Linked DNA regions of Homo sapiens: region 2 is linked to region 1. Evidence: promoter capture Hi-C in human tissues and cell types (Jung and others, 2019). All regions are on one chromosome and are shown on one strand. Each heading gives the region's core, a stretch centred on a gene start or on the middle of the fragment in contact. The rest is flanking DNA. Distances are from core to core; before and after follow the strand shown. Region 1 holds the start of RNF223 (ring finger protein 223). Region 2 holds the start of TNFRSF18 (TNF receptor superfamily member 18).

Region 1 (5,024 bases), core at 1,278-3,777:
CTCAGCCTCCCCCCACGGAGTCCCCGTAGCCTCAGCCTCCCCCCACGGAGTCCCCGTAGCCTCAGCCTCCCCCCACGGAGTCCCCGTAGCCTCAGCCTCCCCCCACGGAGTCCCCGTAGCCTCAGCCTCCCCCCACGGAGTCCCCGTAGCCTCAGCCTCCCCCCACGGAGTCCCCGTAGCCTCAGCCTCCCCCCACGGAGTCCCCGTAGCCTCAGCCTCCCCCCACGGAGTCCCCGTAGCCTCAGCCTCCCCCCACGGAGTCCCCGTAGCCTCAGCCTCCCCCCACGGAGTCCCCGTAGCCTCAGCCACCCCCCACGGAGTCCCCGTAGCCTCACAGCCCTGCACGGAGTCACCATAGCCTCAGCCTGCCCCACGGAGTCCCCATAGCCTCAGCCTCCCGGCACGGAGTCCCCATAGCCTCAGCCTCCCCCCACGGAGTCCCCATAGACTCAGCCTCCCCCGACGGAGTCCCCATAGCCTCAGCCTCCCAGCACGGAGTCCCCGTAGCCTCAGCCTCCCCCCACGGAGTCCCCGTAGCCTCAGCCTCCCCCCACGGAGTCCCCGTAGCCTCAGCCTCCCCCCACGGAGTCCCCGTAGCCTCAGCCACCCCCCACGGAGTCCCCGTAGCCTCACAGCCCTGCACGGAGTCACCGTAGCCTCAGCCTGCCCCACGGAGTCCCCATAGCCTCAGCCTCCCGGCACGGAGTCCCCATAGCCTCAGCCTCCCCCCACGGAGTCCCCATAGACTCAGCCTCCCCCGATGGAGTCCCCATAGCCTCAGCCTCCCAGCACGGAGTCCCCATAACCTCAGCCTCCCCCCACGGAGTCCCCATAGCCTCAGCCTCCCGCCACGGAGTCCCCATAGCCTCAGCCTCCCGGCACGGAGTCCCCATAGCCTCAGCCTCCCCCCACGGAGTCCCCATAGCCTCAGCCTCCCCCCACAGAGTTCCCATAGCCTCAGCCACCCCGCACGGAGCCCCTCACAGAGCTCCCACCCCTCCCCAGCTCTTGAGTCCCCAGCCCTCCCTGTCTGAAAGCCCAGCCCCAGCCCGCGCCCCGCTCTCTGAGCATCCACCCCTCCCTGTCTGAGCACCCAAATCCGCTCTCTGAACCCCCCTAACCCCCGACTGAGAGTCCTCATGGAACTGGCAGGGGTCCCCCCAACCCCTGACTGAGAGTCCTCATGGAACTGGCAGGGGTCCCCCCAACCCCCGACTGAGAGTCCTCATGGAACTGGCAGGGGTCCGGCCCTTCCTGAGCCCAAGTCCCTGTGCTCCTCCTCGGGGTGTTGCCCCCTGGCCTCTGCAGTCCTGGTTCCCACTTCCCAGCATCCCTTGGGCTCCAGGATGCCCGCGGCAGCCCTGGGGGAGCCTCTGGGTCCCTACTGAGGGGTCGGCGGGCACCTGCATGGGAGTTGCCTGAGGGCAGTCTGTGGGGTGGCCCGGCCAGCTCTCCCACTAGGGTGGGTCCCTCACTCCCAGCCCCACCCAGTGTGGCACCCCCCCAGGCTGGTGTGTGGAGTCCCAGCTCAGGTCCGGCCCAGGCCTCATGGCGGGGATGGGGCTGTGGCAGCCGGGTCGGACCTCCCCTTGCATGAGGTCCACTGGGCTGGGAGAGAGACGCCTCAGTGAGGTGGGGAGCTGGCAGCTGGACAGCCTGGGGGTGCAGCTCTACACCAGGCCCTCGGGCCCACAGCGGGGTGTGCGGGGGACGGGGCAGCCCATGCCACTGGCTGCTCCTCTGAGACCCACACATCCTCCATCCCAGCCCTGCCAGCCTCAGCCCCCAGACTCTCAACCAGCTCCAGCCCTGGTCTTTGCACAGACCAGTCCTGTAGTCTGCTAGGGCATGTGGACATGGCATGTGTGTGTGTGTGGACACAGGGCACGTGTGTGAGAGCATGTGGACATGGCATGTGTGTGAGAGTGTGGACACGGCGTGTGAGTGTGGACACGGCGTGTGTGAGTGTGGACATGGCATATGTGAGCTTCCGGACACGGCACGTGTGTGAGAGCCTGTGGACACGGGGGCATAGAGCGTGTGAACACATGGCCCATGTGTGAGAGCAGCCACGTATGTGTATGGATGAGGCAGGTGAGCACATGGGTGGGTGTGGGCAGGGAAGTGGCAGGAATGGGCTGTGAGGGCAGGCAGCAGTGAGCAAAGGGCAGGGGCAGGCTGGGCATAGGTTGTGGGGGGCTCGGGGAGGGCCCCTGCTAGGAGGCCCACCCAGGAGCTCAGGGGCCACAGGGACCTGGAACTGCGGTGAGCAGCTTCCAGCAGGTGCTCCAGCCTCCTGGGGCTATAGGGAGAGAGGGCTTTGTCCAAGCACACACCCCAGCCCAGACCTGCCCAGGCTGCAGCGGCTGTGCTGACCCCTACCCGGCTCCGACCCTCACCCCTCCCTCCCTGCCCTCCAGCTGCCTGGCCCGCCAAGGAGAGGATGAAGCCAGCCAATCCCTGAGGCTTGCGGCCACACCCTTGGCCCATAGGGTATAAATAGACCTGCTTGGGAGCCCACACCCAGCAACTCACACCTGCCTCAGACCAGAGCTCTGTGCGGGTGACGGCGCACGCATTCCTTGTGTCCCCGCCTGTCTTGGACAGAGCAGAAGCCACACCTGCCAGACCAGTGCCACCGGGACAGCTGCTGGTGGCCGGCCCCGGGGAGGGATACCTGCTGGGTGAAGCACAGGCCGGGCCGGGCCCGGAGAAGAGGAAGCAGACACTGCCACGGCAGGGCAGCCCAGGGCCTTGGAGCCCAACCGTGGCCGGCGAGGAGGACCACGCCCAGGCCCGCTGACCCCCGGCCACCAGGTAAGGCCAGCTCAGCCCGTGTTCACCCCTTACCTGCACAGGCTCAGGGTGGGGCACCATCGTGGAGGGGTGGGGCCTCGTGCCAAGGAACCGGTTCTGTGGGGTACACAGGCCGCAGAGCACAGTCCCCAGGTCCCGGTGCCTGGGGCACTCACGGCCTCACAGTGACGGCGTGTGACTCAGGTGGTCACAGTGACCTGTGTCATCCCGCCAGCCTGTCTGGGACTCACTGGCAAGTCAGGGGTGGGGCGGGGCAGTGCCAGGAGTCACTTCTGGGGCAGCCTCCTGGGCCCCACGGGGACGCACGGCCAGGCCCTTGAGTCTCACTGTCACCCTTGCCCACTTCCCTCCAGGTGGGACCCCTGTGGCTCCCTGCAGCGGATCCTGGGTGCAGGGGAGGGGCGGGAGGTGGAGCAGGGTCCCAGGTCAGCTGAGATGCCCACCTGAGCCATGCCCAGGGGCAGAGCAGCATCCCCCAGTGTCCGTCCCCCAGGGTCCCTGCCATGAAGTGGGATTGGGTCAGGGAGAAGAAACACCCACTCAGTGGGCGGCTGAGGGTGCCCTGACCATCACCTGACCATGAGGCAGTGGGCTGGCCCAGAGGGAATGGCTGGGCTTATCCAAGTCCCACCCCCACACTGTGCACATCAGACCCTCAGCAGCTAGACAAGCCGGCCCCGCAGGCCGCAGGTCGTGCCTGACGTGCACCTTCCTCGGGCACTGACCCCTGCCCCTGCCTGGGCCCTCCCTGTCGTCCCAAAGCCCCCGGGGCTCAGCCCGGTCCCCAGACCCAGAGACCCCCACACCCCACCCTCACATAGCTGCCTACAAATCAGGCCTGCACCGCCCAAGCCAGGCACCCATCCTGGGATCTGAGTTCAAACTCACTTCACTTGACTTGGAGTCCCTGGCCTGCCTGAGAGCCGTATCTGCCAGGGTCCAGGGCCCGCCAGCTCCCTTGGGGTGGCCCTGGCCGAGTCACCCATGCTCTGGGCGGCCTTTTCCACACTGTGGCGTTGTGTGAGTCCCGTGATGTGGGCCCAGCCTTGCAGAGCTCCGACATAAACAGTGACGACTGTGGCTATTGTCATCCTCACCATTATTTCTGCCCGGGCAGCAGGGCCAGCCAGGTGGGGCAGGGCCAACAGGAGGTGTCTGCCGAGCGGTCAGTGAGACCCCCCTACACACGGCCTGCATTCCCGGAGCAGGCCTGGGGCCCTGTGGGAGGCTCACCCCGGTGCAGCCATGTGATGGGGTGGAGAGGACAGGATTGCACGTGGGGCAGAATGACCTCCAGGGGCACCGGAGGAACTTTCTGGAGTGGCGCGCAGGAAACAGAGTCCTTCCCTGGGATCTCTGGGGCGAGAGAGGGGAGGGAGAGATAAAACACCACCAGAAAGGGGCGGCCGGTGATTGCTTACCACAGTCCCTGTCCCACAGCTCAGAGACATGTCGTCAGGCCAGCAGGTGTGGCACACGGCTGTGCCACCCCCTCGCCGGAGCAGCTCCATAGCCTCGATGCCCAGGTCCCCCAGCTCGGCCGGCAGCCCCAGGTCCCCTGGCACCCCTGGCTCGGAGAGGGTGGCCTCCCCCCTGGAGTGCTCCATCTGTTTCTCAGGCTATGACAACATCTTCAAGACACCCAAGGAGCTCTCCTGCACCCACGTCTTCTGCCTGGAGTGCCTGGCCCGGCTGGCGGCTGCTCAGCCTGTGGGCCGCCCCGGTGGTGAGGCTGTACCTTGCCCCTTCTGCAGGCAGCCCACGGCCGTGCCGCCCGCCGGAGCCCCCGCGCTGTGCACCAGCCGCCAGCTGCAGGCCCGGATGCCGGCGCATTTGCGGCGTGAGGAGCCTGTGTGGCTGGAGGGCACCAAGCTGTGCTGCCAGCCACTGCCCACCACACCTGGCCGCGAGCCCGGTTTCGTATGCGTGGACGTGGGTTTGAGCAAGCCTGCCGAGCCGCCCGCGCCCGCCCGGGACCCTGCCCCCCGCCGGGGCCGCCTGGCCCGCTGCTGGGCGCGCTGCAGGGACTGGAGGCGCATGGCACTGGTCTCTGCCCTGCTGCTGATGCTCTTCTGTGTGGCACTCTGGCCGGTGCAGTGCGCGCTCAAGACCGGGAACCTGCGCTGCCTGCCCCTGCCCCCCCGGCCCCCGGCCACCAGCACAGCCGCCTCCCCCCTCGGGCCTCTGACTGATAATTAGGGCCAGCA
Region 2 (4,991 bases), core at 2,027-4,526, 130 kb before region 1:
CCTGGAGTACTGCGATTCCAGGTGTGAGCCACCACGCCTGGCCCTCACTGCACTCATGAGCAAGAAACACACAGCCGAGGCCGGTCACGGTGGCTCACGCCTAGAATCCTAGCACTTTGGGAGGCTGAGGCCAGACGATCGTCTGAGCTCAGGAGTTTGAGACCCGCCTGGGTAACATGGCAAGACCCTTTTCTATGAAAAATAGAAAAAATCAGCCGGGTGTGGTGGTGCATGCCTGTGGTCCCGGCTACTTGGGAGGCCGAGGTGGGAGGATCACTTGAGCCCAAGAGATGGAGGCTGCAGTGAGACGTGACTGGAAAAAAAAAAAGAAATTTAAAAAAATTACTTAAGAAGAAACACATGAAGCCTCATGGAAGGTTTTGCTGAGGGCCTGGCACAGCCTGGACACTCCGGCTACCGTGGCTGGTGTGGCCCAGCCCCGCAGCTGCACCCGCTGCCCCACACAGCGTCCCTGGGCCAGCCTTCCCTCTCCCTGCGTCCTCCAACAGCGCACGCTGCCCACGGCTGTCCAGGCCTCCTGTGCCTGGCGGATGGCTCCCCCCTGCCGGTGTCGTGGAAGTGGGGAACCGGCCCCGGGGGTGCACAGTGGGAGCGCCACGCGCCACTCACAACAGCCCAAGGTGCCGGGACCACAGGTGGCTGTAAGGAAGACGCCCATCTCTGGCCTCGGGCTGCCCTGGACCCCTCCTGCCTCTGCAGCTGGTTTTCTCCCCTGGGTCTCTCTCTCCTCAAACCTCTGTCTTCCACCCACTCTCTGCTAACCACAAGCCTCCCCCCCCGCAGCATAGGGAAGTCAGAGGCCGTCCTGTCCCCCATCCAGCACCTTCACCGAGTTCCCCGGGTTCCTGCACACGGTTCAGCCTGCAGGCCCTGCACAGGGTTGGGGCCGCGCCTCTGAGAGCCCCCCGCCCCCCGCCCCGTGGGGCAGGCGAGGCCAGACCTCCAGGCAGGATGGCGGGTGGGTGGGGGAAGGGGTCAGGTGGCCGGGACTGGAGCGGCCAGATCCTGTGGGGCCCGCAGGTCGACGGCTATGGGAAAGGGGCCTCCTCCCCAAACCTGGCGCCCATACCCATCGCTTCCTGTCTCCTCCCCTCTGGGCACAGCACCCCCCAGGCCCCGTGGGACTTATTCCCCAGCAGGACCCCTTGCCGCACCCCCAGATGGACACGGGGCCACCTCCTCTTGGTCTCCATGCTCACCCTCCCCGCCCCCTCGCCTGACGCCATCTCTGCTGGCAACTCCTGTGCCATCTGTGCCGAAGGCCCTGCCTGAACTCTGGCTCAGTGCCCATCTGCACCCTCCCCGTGGGGCCTCACAGCTGCCCTTCTGGACGTACGCAAGGGCTGTCCCTCGCCCGGCCCGTGGGCTGCTCTGCTGTGTGAATGCCCCGTCATTTGTGTCACCGGTGAGCTGCTCAATAAGATGAACAAGTCACCTCCAGCCTCGCAGCCCAAGGATAGGAGTCACGGGGAGCCGGGGAGGGGCCTTCTGCGGCGAGAGGGATGGGAGGGTGGACGTCACACCCCTGCAGCCCCTCCGGGGACCACCCTGTGTGGCAAGCTGCTCTCCGGCTGTTCAAAGTGTCAGCTGCGCCACGGGGCGGGGGGGAGGGGCTCCTCTGCCCGCTGGCCGCCTCCCACTTGGCCCCATAAACTGCTCGCTCCTCTAACTCTGTCCCTGCCTCTAGATGGATGACTCACACCGTGTGGTCTGATGAGCATTCTTTATTTTTTGTGATGGAGTCTCGCTCTGTCACCCAGGCTGGAGTGCAATGGTGCCATCTTGGTTCGCCGCAACCTCTGCCTCCCAGGTTCAAGCAATTCTCCTGCCTCAGCCTCCCGAGTAGCTGGGATTACAGGCGTGCGCCACCACGCCTGGCTAATTTTTTTTGTATTTTTAGTAGAGACGGGCTTTCTCCATGTGGGTCAGGCTGGTCTCGAACCCCTGACCTCAGGTGATCCGAGGCCCACCTCGGCCTCCCAAAATGCTGGGATTACGGGCGTGAGCCACTGATGGCGCCTCTTTCTATCCAGGGGCCCAGACCCCCTCCCAGCCTCGGGGCTGAAGATCTCCAGGCCTCTCAAAGGCCCCCAGGCCCAGCTGGCCCCACCCCTTTCCTTCCGAGCGTCGGGGCGGCCTGGAGCTGCAGAGACCCCTTCCTTCTCTGCAGTGTCTGAGGGCTGCCTCTCCAAGGCAGGCTCCTACATCTTGGATTTGAGAACTCCGGGGTGTCACAAACAGCTAATTCCTGTCATTTACCTTGGAAAAGGAGGAACCGCCTTACGGGGTGAGGCGGTGGCTGCAGGTCTCAAAAGGGTGTTGAACCACATCCACGCTCACGTTCCCGAGAGCCCCCACCCCCAGCATTCATGGGGGTCTCCACCTGTGCTGGACGGCGCAGAAGCAGGGCTGGGCAATCCAGGGAGGCTTCCTGGTGGAGGCAGGGTCCCAGAACCCCTCGGTGCCCACAGGGGAAACTGAGGCTCAGAAAGACATAGGACAGTCTCCCAAGAGCTCTGCGAGGGGCTCCTCCTCAACTCCCTCCGGGACCTGGATCTGTCTGGTGTGACGGATGAAGGTGGCTCTGAGAGACCGGGCCCTGGGTGCCCGCGGGGGCGGCTGACACTGTCCCGAGGAGGCGCCAGCACCCTCTCGTCTCCCCACCAGCTCCTCCTGGTGCCCCTCCCAAGCCCCGGGGAACTTCCCAGGTTGGCCTGAGGGGGGTCCTGGAGAGCTGCAAGCAAGGGGGAGGGGAGCCCACAGGCCTGCAGCCCATGGTGAGTTTCACACCTGAAGCCAGCCAGGTGGGGTGTGCTGAGCCGAGGGGTCCCTGTCCCCATTCTGTGGGGTTCCCCAGCACGGGGCTCCATGGTTGAGGCTCTCTGGGGGTGGCCAGAATTTGTGGAGACCTCTCGGGGACTCGCAGATACCACCCGGAGGCAGTGGGATGGAGGAGTGATTGGCTGACCCCCGCCCTCCAAGGGGCCCCCATGGGACAAGGTGCTATAAACGCCGCCCCCTGCACTGGGGACACCAATGTGGCCGCAGACTTTGCATAGAAAACCTTTCTGATCCCCGCCAGCCTGGTTTCCCCGCCCCTGCCGGCGACCTGCGGGGGACCGGGCTGTGTCCGCAGTGTCTACACCCCCTCCTCACACGCACTTCACCTGGGTCGGGATTCTCAGGTCATGAACGGTCCCAGCCACCTCCGGGCAGGGCGGGTGAGGACGGGGACGGGGCGTGTCCAACTGGCTGTGGGCTCTTGAAACCCGAGCATGGCACAGCACGGGGCGATGGGCGCGTTTCGGGCCCTGTGCGGCCTGGCGCTGCTGTGCGCGCTCAGCCTGGGTCAGCGCCCCACCGGGGGTCCCGGGTGCGGCCCTGGGCGCCTCCTGCTTGGGACGGGAACGGACGCGCGCTGCTGCCGGGTTCACACGACGCGCTGCTGCCGCGATTACCCGGGTAAGTAAACCGCGTTTACTTAACGCGGACCGGCCAAGGCGTCCCGCGGAAGCCGGGATGGGTGGGCGCCCCCCTTCCCGTGCTCAGACCGGCGTTGCTGAGGTCTAAGGAGGGTGGGCACAGAGCCGCCAGCAGCGGGAGCCTTCCGGAGGGAGGCAGGATCCCAGAGGGAGGCGGAGGTGTGCCAGCTCCAGCCAGTGGCCCCGGCCGGGAGCAGGGGTGAGCCAGGTGGGAGCGCCCTCAAGAGGGGTCTGGGGTCTGGAGGTGGAGGACGGCTGTTCCAGGTCCTGCTGGGCGGGTCGTGAGCCCTTGGCCATCGCCCAGCCCCCTCCTGCCCAGTTGAGGGCCCCCCTGCACCACCGTCTGGCCTGCTGCCTGCCTCTGACCTGCACCTGGGGATGAGGGTTCAGCTGACACGGCTGGTCTGGAGAGGAAGCTGGCAGGGAAGTCACCCCAGAGCTTCTTCCTCCAGGGCCTGTGGGTTGGGAAGGGAGGCTCTGTCCGGAGGCCCAGTGTGGCTGGTGGTGGGGACAGCAGCGCCCAGACACCAGGCAGGCGGCCTCTGAGGTGTCGACGGGCCTCCAGGGGACTGTGCACTGTTGGGGGCCACCCCTGGGTCCTGCAGGGGCAGCTCCTGGTTGCATATGGAGTTAGCACCTGGGCAGGGGCAGCTGTGGGGCGCAAAGGGGGAGTAGCCAGGCCACATGGCCCCAGGAGAAAGAGACAGCTGGATAAACCCAGGGTCCAGACTCCCAGCCAGGAGCCCTCTGCTCCCTGGAGCCAACTGTGGGTGGAGAACGGACAACCTCACTCCCCTGGAGGGCCGAGGGGAGGCCTGGGGAGGAGGGGGCCTCAGCCCAGCTGCTGGGGGGCTGGCCTGTCTCCTGCCCAGGCGAGGAGTGCTGTTCCGAGTGGGACTGCATGTGTGTCCAGCCTGAATTCCACTGCGGAGACCCTTGCTGCACGACCTGCCGGCACCACCCTTGTCCCCCAGGCCAGGGGGTACAGTCCCAGGGTAAGTCCTGGAGGTGCCTCTGGGAGTCCACACAGGCCAGGGGTTCCACTAGGGCCCGAGGCAGAGCTCGTGGGCACAGGTGTCCGGCGAGGACATGTGGTGTGTGGGGTCCGGAGTCCTGTGAGGCCGGGCAGGCCAGGCCATGCTCAGGCACCACAGGCCATGAAGCTCTGGGGGTGTCCTGTCCCTGCTTTCTCAGCCTGGGCTTCTCCATCCAGCACGAGGGCTGTGAGAACCCTGCGGGGAGGTGGGGGCGGGTTCCAGGAGCTGTCTGGCTCTCAGGCCCGGGACACCCATCCTGTCTGTCCTCACCACATACTGAAAGAGCCTGCCCTGTGCCCCCCGGAGTCCTGTCTGGGGCCTGGGGCTGCACCCTGTTCTGGAAGGAGCAGCTCAAGTCCTCTTAGCGGCTTGTTTACCTGACAGGAGAGGTCAGGCTGGGCACATGAGAGCTGGGAGAAGGTACAACTGGGGAGGTTGTGTCAGGTTGGAC

The links. The method cuts DNA at HindIII sites, captures the fragments that hold promoters and counts their contacts. A contact is called where the count stands out against the background at its distance.
Region 2: a contact is called between the fragment with the promoter of TNFRSF18 here and the fragment with the promoter of RNF223 in region 1, in 2 of the 25 tissues and cell types used here (IMR-90 fibroblasts and pancreas).

What each region holds. Positions count from the first base shown.
Region 1 is chr1:1,071,809-1,076,832 of GRCh38, reverse strand. RNF223 (ring finger protein 223) reads left to right here and starts at 2,527. Exons shown (of 2, transcript NM_001205252.2): 1 at 2,527-2,817; 2 at 4,258-5,024. The coding sequence starts at 4,267. The coding sequence ends at 5,016. RefSeq lists an enhancer at 2,335-2,834. The HindIII fragment of the contact is 34,324 bases long and covers 1-5,024 here.
Region 2 is chr1:1,204,877-1,209,867 of GRCh38, reverse strand. It overlaps TNFRSF18 (TNF receptor superfamily member 18), which reads left to right and starts at 3,276. Exons shown (of 5, transcript NM_004195.3): 1 at 3,276-3,483; 2 at 4,376-4,498. The coding sequence starts at 3,297. RefSeq lists silencers at 841-950, 1,531-1,620, 4,493-4,693 and an enhancer at 817-1,696. The HindIII fragment of the contact is 29,019 bases long and covers 1-4,991 here.